Linked DNA regions of Homo sapiens: region 2 is linked to region 1. Evidence: promoter capture Hi-C in human tissues and cell types (Jung and others, 2019). All regions are on one chromosome and are shown on one strand. Each heading gives the region's core, a stretch centred on a gene start or on the middle of the fragment in contact. The rest is flanking DNA. Distances are from core to core; before and after follow the strand shown. Region 1 holds the start of MANBAL (mannosidase beta like). Region 2 has its middle 31 kb from the start of SNORA71B.

Region 1 (5,487 bases), core at 1,327-3,826:
GTAAGTCCTGTCCTAAACATCTGCACCCTGCAGGCCTCAGTGTCACCCCCTCAGCTATTCTTAGGCTCCAAGCCGTTTCTCACTACCCAGCCTTTCCACCACCCATCGTGCTTTTTCCTCCTTCTCTTTGCCTGGCAAAGTCCTCCTCATTCTTCATTTCTTTTTTTGAGATGGAGTATTGCTTTGTTGCCCAGGCTGGAATGCAGTGGTGCGACCTCGGCTCACTGCAACCTCTGCCTCCTAGGTTCAAGCAATTGTCCTGCCTCAGCCTCTCAAGTAGCTGAGACTACAGGTGCACACCACCATGCCTGGCTAATTTTTTGGGTATTTTTTGTAGAGACGGGGTTTCGCCATGTTGCCCAGGCTGATCTCAAACTCCTGGGCTCAAGCAATCTGTCCACCTTAGCTTCCCAAAGTGCTGGGATTATAGACGTGAGCCACCACTCTTCATTTCTTACCAGAAATGTGATCTCATGGACGTCTTCCCTCATCACCTCTCTTTTGATTGTATCTCCCATGTTATTGCTTCTCTCATGGCTCCCCCTTCTTCCTTCCCAACACATCTCATGGTTTTTAAGTGTACATTTATCTGTGTGATTGATTAGTGGGGGTGACAGACATTGACCCCTAGTCTATAAGCACAGTCAGGGTAGGATCCCACCTACTCACCATTGTCTTCCCAGTTTCATAGTGCATGATCCAGAGTAGAAACTCCATAAATATTTTTTAAATGAATAAATTATGCATTTTGGGTCCCCCATGCCACCTCACATAGTATGGGATTAGTGAATGTTGAGTGTATTATTTGTCTTCTAAGAGACTGAATTCCTTTAGGGCAAGATAGGTCTCTCTCTCTCTCTTTTTTTTTTTTGGAGTCTCTGGTATCTAACCTCTGTTCCTTGATCCTCTATGTATGTTATCTAGGCTGCATAACCAATTATCCTAAAACTTAGGAGCTTAAAACAATAACATTTAGTATTTCACAATTTCTGTGAGGCAGGCATTCAAGTGGCATTGCAAGGTATTTCTGGCTCAAGGTTGCTCTTGAGTTTACACTGAAGATTTTGGCCAGGCCACAGTCATTTGAAAGCTTGACTAGGACTGCTGGAGCCACTTGGCTCATACACATGGCTGGCAAGTTGGAGCTGGTTGTTGGCAGGCAGCTCAGTTACTCCCCATGCGAGCCTCTCCATAGGACTGCTTGAGTGTCTTCACAACATGGATTCCCCATGAGCAATCAAGACAGAGGAAAGAGGAAGTTGCAATGTCTTTTATGACTTTATCTTGGAACTCGTGCTCCAAGATTTCCGCAATATCCTATGGGTTATACAGGTCAGTCTTATTCTTGGTGGGAGGTGACTACAGAGGGGTATGGATATCAGGAGCCAAGAATCGTCAGGGTTTATGGTGGAGGCTGGTTATCACACTCTCATCTAGGTTTCTTTTTCTCCTACTACTTGCCCCCCACCCCTTCTTAATCATGGAACACTGTTCTTTGCCTTCAAAAAACTTATCCTGTTATATGATTACACATTCATTTAATTAGTCTGTCTCCCTCCAACGGACTGTAAGCACCACAAGGGCAGAGACTGTATGTGTCTGCTTTAGCACTGTGTCCTCAGTTACAAGGACAAAGCATAGAGTACGCGCTCAGTGAATGCTTTTTGAATGAATTATAATGATTTGCTTCTGTCTGAATTACAAGAGGTGTTTCTGTTTGTCTCCTCTCTGCATTGTAGGCTCCTAGCTCAGGACCTGGCATAAAATTAAGGAAATGAACGTGAGAAACACTTTTGAAATAGTGACAACACATCCAGATGAACATTTTGCAGGACAGCTACACACCCGTTTTAGCTCACCAGCTACCAGTTGTGACTGTGCTCTGCTCTGGGAGATGGCTTAGCTTTGCATAGGACAAAATTCTAATCTAGTTTCGCGCAGTTCTTACGAATTTGTTACAATGAGACGGGCCAAGCTATACAGCCCATTGCGATGAATAAGTAACTTTTTTTTTTTTTTTTTTTTTTTTTTGAGGAAGAGTCTCATTCTGTCGCCCAGGCTGGAGTGCAGTGGCGCGATCTCGGCTCACTGCAACTTCTGCCTCCCGGGATTCAAGAGATTCTCTTGCCTCAGCCTCCCAAGCAGCTGGGATTACAGGCGCCCGCCACCACGCCCGGCTAATTTTTGTATTTTTGGTAGAGACGGGGTTTCACCATGTTGACCAGGCTGGTCTCGAACTCCTGACCTCAAGTGATCCGTCCGCCTCGGCCTCCCAAAGTGCTGGGATTACAGGCGTGAGCCACCGTGCCCAGCCCCGAGAAGTAATTTCTTTTGTTTTCTTTTTAATTAAACAAAAATGTTGCTGAAACGAGCTGAGTGATATAGGAGCTTAAAGAATTGACAAGCTCTAGATTTCATTTCCCCAAACCTCTTTGTCCAGCTCGAACCCACAGAACAGGGACAAAAGTCGACAAAACCCAGCGGTGCCTCACCCAGAAACCTGGCAACGCGGGCGGAACAGAGCCGGTTGGTTGCTCAGTGCGCGTCACTTCCGGGACTCAGGGTCGCAGGGAACTACTTCCGGGGGAGCGGCGCGGCGGCGCGGGAGGTGAGTGCCGCAGCTTTGCGGTGGGGTGGGAACCGAGAGAGAGCCGTCCTCGGTGCGGTGGCCTGGCTTTCCCGGCCGGCCTGTCTCCAGCGGCGCCGCTTGGTGGGCCCGGCTGTCGCTCCGCTCAGGGCCTGAATACGTTCCCTCGGCGGTTGTTCGAAAGTTACTTCCGGAGGGGAATTTGAGCCCCCCGGGAGGCGGAGGGCCTCGCCTGGGGCAGCCCTGCGCTTTCGTGCGGAGGCTGGGCCAGAACCCAGGGCTCCTCATGGCCTGGTCCGGGCCTTTCCTCCCACGGGTGGAGCAGTAGGAGAACCCTGAGCTCCAGAGTGAATCTGGCCAGGGTTCGAATCCGTATGGCTCTCTTACCGTGGGCAAGTCACGGTTCCTCTCTGGCCCTCAGTTTCGTCTTCTAAAATGGACATACACGCTTGTACTGCGGGGTAAACCGAGGTGGTGAATGTAAAGCCCTTAGTAGGTGCACAGTCCATGTTTGTTGTACGAATTCTAAGAGAAGCGAGAAATGAATATGAGAAACATTTTTAAAATGGTGACAACACATTTAGATTAATAATTATATTTTGCAGGGCATCTGCACACCAGTTTCAGCCCACCGGCTACCAGTGTGACTTTGCCCAGAGAGGTGGCTTAGCTTTGCATTCTAATCTAGTTTTGCGTGGTTCTTAGGAATTTGTTTTAATGGGACGGGCCAGGCTGTACAACCCATTGCCATAAAGCGGTAACTTCTTTTTCTTTCCTTTTTTTTTTTTTAAAGCCATTCTATTTATTTATTTAGAGACGGAGTCTCTCTCTCGTCCACGCTGAAGGGCAGTGGCGGGATCTTGGCTCACTGCAACCTCCGCTTCTTGGGTTCAAGCGATTCTCCTGCCTCAGCTTTCCGAATAGCTGGGATTACAGACGTGTGCCACCACGCCCGGCTAATTTTTGTATCTTTAGTAAAGACAGGGTTTCACCATGTTGGCCAGGCTGGTCTCAAACTCCCGACCTCAGGTGATCCACCCGCCTCGGCCTCCCAGAGTGTTGGGATTATAGGCGGGAGCCACCACACCCGGCTTTTTTTTCTTTTTAATTAAAAAAAAGTTGAAATAGAGATGGAGTCTCACTATGTTTTCCTGCCTGGTCTTGAACTCCTGGAGGCAAGATATCCTTCCTCCTGGACCTCCCAAAGTGTTTGGGATTACTGGCAAGAGCCACTGTGCCTGGCCTAAAACAGTAACTTCTGACACTGGTTTCTATTCCCCAGTCTGTTTTCAGCTGAATTTTCACAATAGAATTTAAAGTTACTTCATTAGAAGCCAAGAATGGCCTACCAGCACAGTACACAACATTGGGAGATGAAGGCCTGTGGCAGTCGTGAAATCTGAGTTTTTCAGTCTTAAGAGAAGATTTAGTATTTGCTAAGTCTTGAGAGCTATACTTGTCTCAGTGGTTTTTTATTTATTTGTTTTGAAATGTTGACCCATTCTTTTTTTCCCCAATAACCTTTTTGTTTTAGAATAATTTTAGATTTACAAAGTTATCGCAAAGATACTTCAGTGAGTGCCCATATAGCCCACGTTTCCCCTATTACTAATATCTGAAATGTCACAATTACTGAACCAATATTGATACATTATTATTAACTCTAATCTGTACTTTATTCACATTTCCTTAGTTTTTCCCTAATGTCCTTTTTCTGTCCTGGTATTATCCAGGGCACCCTATTACATTTAGTCATCATATCTCTTTAGGCTCATCATCTCTGTGATCGTTTCTCAGACTTCCCTTGTTTTAGATGAACTTGAGGGTTTTGAAGATAGTACTGACTGGTCAGATATTTTGCAGAAGGACCTTTAATTAGGATTTGCCTGTTTTTGACATGAGTAAGATCAGGGTAATGGGTTTTTGGGGAGGAGGACCACTGATAGGGTTCGGCTGTGTCCCCACCCAAATCTCATCTTGAATTGTAGCTCCCATAATCCCCCCATGTTGTGGGAGGGTCCTGGTGGGAGACAATTGAATCATGGGGGTGGGTCTTTCCCATGCTATTCTCCTGATAGTGAATAAGTCTCAGGAGATCTGATGGTTTTATAAAGGGCAGTTCCCCTGCACACACTCTCTTGCCTGCTGTCACATAAGACATGCCCTTGCCTCCCCTTTGCCTTTTGCCGTGATTGTGAGGCCTACCCACCCATGTGGAACCGTGAGTCCGTTAAACCTCTTTTTCTTTATTAATTACCCAGTCTCGGGTATTTCTTCAAAGTGGTATGAAAATGGACTAATCCAACCACAGAAGTAAAGTGCTATTCTCATCACATCATATCAAGGGTACATACTATCGATATGAGTTATCATTGTTGACATCTGTTAGCTTGAGCCACCTGGCTTGAGGTAGTAGTCAGGCTTTTCCAGTGTAGAGTTACTTTTCCTCCTGCACTTTCCGCACTGTACTTTTGGAGAAAGTCATTATGTACAGCACACATTTAAGGAGTGTGGAATTATGCCCCATGCTTAAAGGCAGAGTATATAATGCAAATTATTTGGAGTTCTCTGTGGGAAATTTGTCTGTTCCCCTATTTTTTGCTTACAGAGTCATATATTTGTATCGGTGTGAACTCATGGATTTGTTTTGTTTTGAGACAGGGTCTCCCGCTGTCGCCCAGGCTGGAGTGCAGTGGTGCAGTCTTGGCTCACTGCAACCTCCACCTCCCGGGTTTAAGTGATTCTCCTGCCTCAGCCTCCTGAGTAGCTGGGATTACAGGCACCTACCACCATGGCTGGCTAATTTTTGTATTTTTAGTAGAGAGAGTTTCACCATGTTGGCCAGGCTGGTCTTGAACTCTTGACCTCAGGTGATCCACCTGCCTTGGCCTCCTGATTAC
Region 2 (5,494 bases), core at 1,572-4,071, 1.1 Mb after region 1:
TATCTTTTAGTTTTGGAGGTCAAGAGGGCTGCATTCCTTCAGGAAGCTCTGGGGGAGAATCTGTTCCCTTCTTTGTTCAGCTGCTAGAGGCTGCTTACATTCGTTGGCCTGCAGCCACTTCCCCCATCTTCAAAACCAGCAGCAGAGCATCTTCTCTCCTCTCTGACCTCTACTTCTGGCCTTACATCTTCTTTAACTCTGATCCTTCTGTTTTTCTCTCATAAGGACCCTTGTGATTGCACTGAGCCCACCCAAATAATGCACGATAATCTCCCCATCTCAAAATCCTTAACTTAATCACACCTGCAAAGTCCGTTCACCACGCGAGGTAACATACTCATAGGTTCAGGGAATTAGGACATGGACATCTTTGGTGAGCCCATTGTTCAACCTGCCACAAATGTATATCAAAGCAATTAAGGCACACATTTTAAAAAATCAAATGTGCAAAAGGGCTTATCATAAGAAGCAGTGGTCTCAGAGGTACCACATTTAATTCCTGAAATGTTTCTGGTTTTAGTTCCTTTGATGGCTAGCTCAAGATCTCAAATAACGTTCCTACATCATTTTTTAAATTTACCAATTTTCTAAAAATTTGCTGAGTACATGAGGACTTAGCTTGTCACCCCATTTTCCTTTCCTCTCTCAAAATACTATGTAACATAATATTTTTTGTTTCTCTATTGGTGTGTTTGTAATTTTAGATAATACATTCACACATATTTCGTGCTCTATCAACTATACCTATATGACTTCCCTTTACTCACTGTGTGACCTTGGTGGGTCTCTCTGAGCCCAAGTTTCCACATCTAAAAAAGTCACAAATGTGCAGTAGTCTCACTAGCTGGCTGTCCACCGAACCATTTCTCTTTCCACCTGGACACATGGTTGAACTACATTTCCCAGCACCCCTTGCAATTAATTGTGGCCCATGTGACTGAGTTCTGACAAATCCATAAACACCACCTGTATGATCCCCCACTACATCTTTCTCTCTCTCTGTCTCTGTCTCTGTCTCTCTCTCTCTCTCTCTCTCTCTCAATCTCTCTCTCTCTCGTCCCCCCTCAGCCAGCTGGATGTCGATATATTGACACCCAAGGTGACTTGGGATAAATGTGTTGAAGATGGCAGAGCCTCCAGCAGCAGTCTAGGTCCCTGAATGATTGTATGGAGCAGAGCTTCTCCCATCCCCAACTGTGGCATGTGGGCTTTGCAAAAGCAGAAATAAACCTGTCAGTCACTGAGATTTGGGGATTTAAACATTAAACACGAGCTAGTGTTGGTTTTAATTGGTACAGAAAGTATAGCAACCCATGAGACTACTGAATTACTTAAACGTATGTAAGTATATTAAGGTTTGTAAGTTGCTTAATCAGTAAATGCTTAACAAATGGAAACTATTATTATTAGTAACACATTCCTTGGACGTCAGGGTTCTCCCCTGCTTCCCCTCCCAGAGACTTTCTAGTTTGCCCTGTTCAGTTAACTCTTCCTTTCCCTCAGCAAGAAAATACGTGCCTATCTAACACCATAAATAATCAAATAATCTCTCCTTGTTCAGAACTCAGCTCCACAATTCAATTGGCAACCGATCATGTGGTATTTTCAACTGCTATTTAAATATTTTGCTATCTAATTTCTCCTAGTTTTATGTCTAACCTCCCTAAGTAGATTATAATTGCCTTGAGGGCAGGAAACAGATATTACATGTCTTTGTATCACCCACGGCTCAATGCAGTACTGAGTCAGGCACTTAATACGTATCTGGTGATTTGATTTGAAGTCTCTTGTCACTTAACCTAGTGATCCAATCTTTTCCCAAGTTATGGGCTGCCCTAGGCTTTTATCATATAGCTCCTTCAATTTATAGCCAGCTGTTAATTATCTCCAGATCTTGCCACTGCGCTTCTGTGCATGCTCAGCTGTCCCCACCTTTCACTTTAATTTCTCCTGTTCAGATCCCAGAGCCGCCCGCAAAGGATATCTCACCCTGTTCTCACTGATGATGGTTCTAAGCTGCCCACTGGGGCTTTGAAAGGTACTTGGAAGGTAAATGAGCCACAGAATGTTAACCCAGGAGGGCGGAAACCCAGGGCAGCAGGAAGTAAGAGAGGACCTTGAGGGTCTCCATTTTGCAGGGTGCTCAAGGGCCAAAGGGAAGGGAGGCCCTGGCAGGTTGAGGTGACCTTTACACTTTAACACTTTGGTGAGTTTCCTTAACACCTTCCCATTTCTGAAGAGCCTGGACGTGGTTGAGGTCTTGCAGAGAACGAGTAGAGAGTGCGGTGGTTTCAACTGAAATAGTCCCTGTCAATCTAACAGTCCAATATTTGTAGTTACTTCTCACTATGGATTCAGTTGTGGTACCCCCAAAAAAGATATGCTGACCAGGTGGGGTGGCTCATACCTGTAATCCCAGCACTTTGGGAGGCCAAGGCAAGTGGATCACTTGAGGTCAGAAGTTTGAGACCAGCCTAGTCAACATAGTGAAACCCCGTCTCTTCTAAAAATATAAAAATTAGCCAGGCGTGGTGGCGGGCATCTGTAGTCCCAGCTACTCAAGAGGCTGAGGCACGAGAATCGCTTAAACCTGGGAGGCGGAGGTTGCAGTGAGCCGAGATCACACCACTGCACTCCAGCCTGGGCGACAGAGCAAGACTCCATCTCAATAAATAAATAATCAAAAAAGATATGCTGAAGCTTTAACCTCCAGGACCTCAAAATGTGATCTTATTTGGAATAGGCTCTTGATAGAGGTAATCAAATTAAAATGAAATCATCAGGATGGGCTCTAATCCAATATGACTTGTGTCCTTATAAAAAGGGAAAATTTGGACACAGATGCAGCTACACGCAGAGGGGAGGTGATGTGAAGACAACTATGTGATGCTGGAGGCAGAGATTGGACTGATGCAGCTGCCATTCCAGGGATGCATGAGGCTGCTGGAAGCTAGGAAGATGCAAGGAAGGATTCCACCCAGAGTCTCAAAGGGAGCATGGCCTGTGGGCACCTTGACTTCTGACTTCTAGCCTTCAGGACTGGGAGACAATCCATTTTTGTTGTTTTAAGTAACCCAGTTTGTGGGGACGGGGAGGTGGTTAAGAAAGGGTCTCACTCTGTCATCTAGCAGGCTGGAGTGCAGTGGTGCAATCACGGCTCACTGCAACCTCAACCTCCTGGATTGAAGTATCCTCCAATCTCAGCCTCCTGAGTAGCTGGGACTACAGGCATGTGCCACCACACCCAGCTAATTTTTTGGTGTTTTGTAGAGATAGCATCTTCCTATGTTGCCCAGGCTAGTCTCGAACTCCTGAGCTCAAGCTATCCTCCTACCTCGGCCTCCCAAAGTGCTGGGATTACAGGCATGAGCTACTGTGCCTGGTCTAGCTTGTGGTATTTTTTATGGCAGCCCAAGAAAACGAATACACTTACTTTCCCTTATCCATGCTTCCCTTCCCATATCCATAAAGGGGCACCTAAAGTCAACCTCTCAAGAGTGGGAGGGTTTTTAGCTGAAATAAAGATTTAAGTTAGCCATGCAAAAGTCAGCTTCTCACTGAGTTTCCAAAATAACTGCAGCTGTTCCAACTATTCTTCTGAGAGGAAAACCTTTAGAAATGTTCCCTGGGAGATGGGCTCCCAGGTTGCCAAGCCCTTTTCTGGAGGGAATGTTCCAGACTCAGCTCCCTTGGGACTTTCCCTGCTGTCTGTACGAGTCTCAGACGTGCTGAAGCAGAGAATCAGATGGTAGTGGCTGCTGATGTTTGGTGCCCAATGGTCTGGATAAATTCTTTTTGTTTCCATTAGAACATTCAGTTTCCCCAATCTATGTGCTCTTGGGAGGTGGAGAGAGAAAATCCACTCATTCCACAAATATTTATTGAGCCAGCACTGTATGCCAAGTGCTGTCATTGTGCTTGGGATTTATCAGTAAACAAAACAGATCCAGAAAATTCCCACCTTTATAAACATTACATTCTAGGATGGGAAGAGACAGGCAATAATAAATGAGAACAAAAGTTAATTAGATAGTAGGTTAAGAGATGATAATGGTTATGGGAGAAAATAGAACAGAGTTATAATCCAATCTTTATCCATTTTGTTACTCAAATTATCCCAGCTTTAGTCGTTAGAAATGACTTCAGGATGGCCCCTACATCCTTTGGCTATGTCCCTGTATTTGCCTGTTTTCATACTGCTATAAAGAACTGCCCAAGACTGGGTAATTTATAAAGGAAAGAGGTTTAATTGACTCACAGTTTGGCATGGCTGGGGAAGCCTCAGGAAACTTACAATTATGGTAGAAGGCAAGGAGGAAGCAAGGCACCTCCTCCCAAGGCGGCAGGAAGGAGAAGTGCTGCGCAAAGGGGGAAGAGCCCCTTATAAAACCATCAGATCTTGTGAGAACTCACTCACTATCATGAAAACAGCATGGGGGAACTGCTCCCATGATTCAATTACCTCCACCTGGTCTTTCCCTTGACACATGGGGATTATGGGGATTACAATTCAAGATGAGATTTGAATGGGAACACAAAGGCTAACCATACTAGGCCCCATTATTTTCTGAGCACTTCCTCACTCTAGCACAACAGTATGTGTGCCAGGTTCATCTTTTACTTCCCCTGCTAAAGACTTGCAATCTCCAAGGAACTCTAGTTCCTTTTATTGAAAAATGGTATTTGGAAACCAAGATTTGGGTGCTAGATGTCTAGATGTGCTCACTGCTACTGGGATGCCATTGCCTCTAGGGCTTCTGAGAGGACAAAACTAGAAACTTTACATAGGACAATTACTAACAAGCATACACATAAAGCCATATTTATTTCTATATTTATGCATCTGTATAATTGTTCAAAACCATGGGTTCATACTGATATTTCTGATTCTCATCCAACACCACACAGGATTCATTCTAGCTCCTTCCTTATTTCTAACTTTTTTTCCAACAGTGAGAACCCTGGCTCTAATTATCCATAATCTGCTTTCCTTTTTGTTCAATCCAAATAGACACATATTGACTAAACAGAGCACAATATTTGTATGCAATTCTTTTTATCTTTGACCTTACAATATACAGTAAAAATGCTGTCTTCCAGAGTTGCTTAGTTCTTTTATTCCCCACATCCTTCAGTGGGATTATCTCAGTCATTTGTAACACAGGTTCATTTGCTATAGCTTATATGCCATTTGGGGTTTCTCCCACATATCCTGGTTGGTTTTGATGATTTATTTGTTTACTGGGCATGTGAAACATTACTATGGTTCTGACAGTCAAGGCTATACAAAAAGGTGTACTCGCCAGCATTTGGCATTACATTTTTTTTTTTATTTTAGCCATCCTAATAGGAGAATAATGGTATCTCATTGTGGCTTTAATCTACATTATCCTAAGAGCTAATGATGTTGAGCATCTTTGGTGAGTTACCTAATCAAGTCTTTTACAGATTTTCTCATTGGATTATTTATTATCTTAAGGTTGAGTCTAAAGAG

The links. Contacts are between HindIII fragments. The study calls those that stand out against the background at their distance.
Region 2: a fragment that was not itself captured here is called in contact with the fragment with the promoter of MANBAL in region 1 in 1 of the 25 tissues and cell types used here (dorsolateral prefrontal cortex).

The regions. Positions count from the first base shown.
Region 1 is chr20:37,287,079-37,292,565 of GRCh38, forward strand. MANBAL (mannosidase beta like) reads left to right here and starts at 2,577. Exons shown (of 3, transcript NM_001003897.2): 1 at 2,577-2,608. RefSeq lists enhancers at 2,365-2,474, 2,547-3,451, 4,680-4,789. The HindIII fragment of the contact is 10,035 bases long and covers 1-5,487 here.
Region 2 is chr20:38,391,599-38,397,092 of GRCh38, forward strand. No RefSeq gene overlaps it. Among named protein-coding and RNA genes, the nearest start is that of SNORA71B, 31 kb to the right of the region's middle. The HindIII fragment of the contact is 3,869 bases long and covers 888-4,756 here.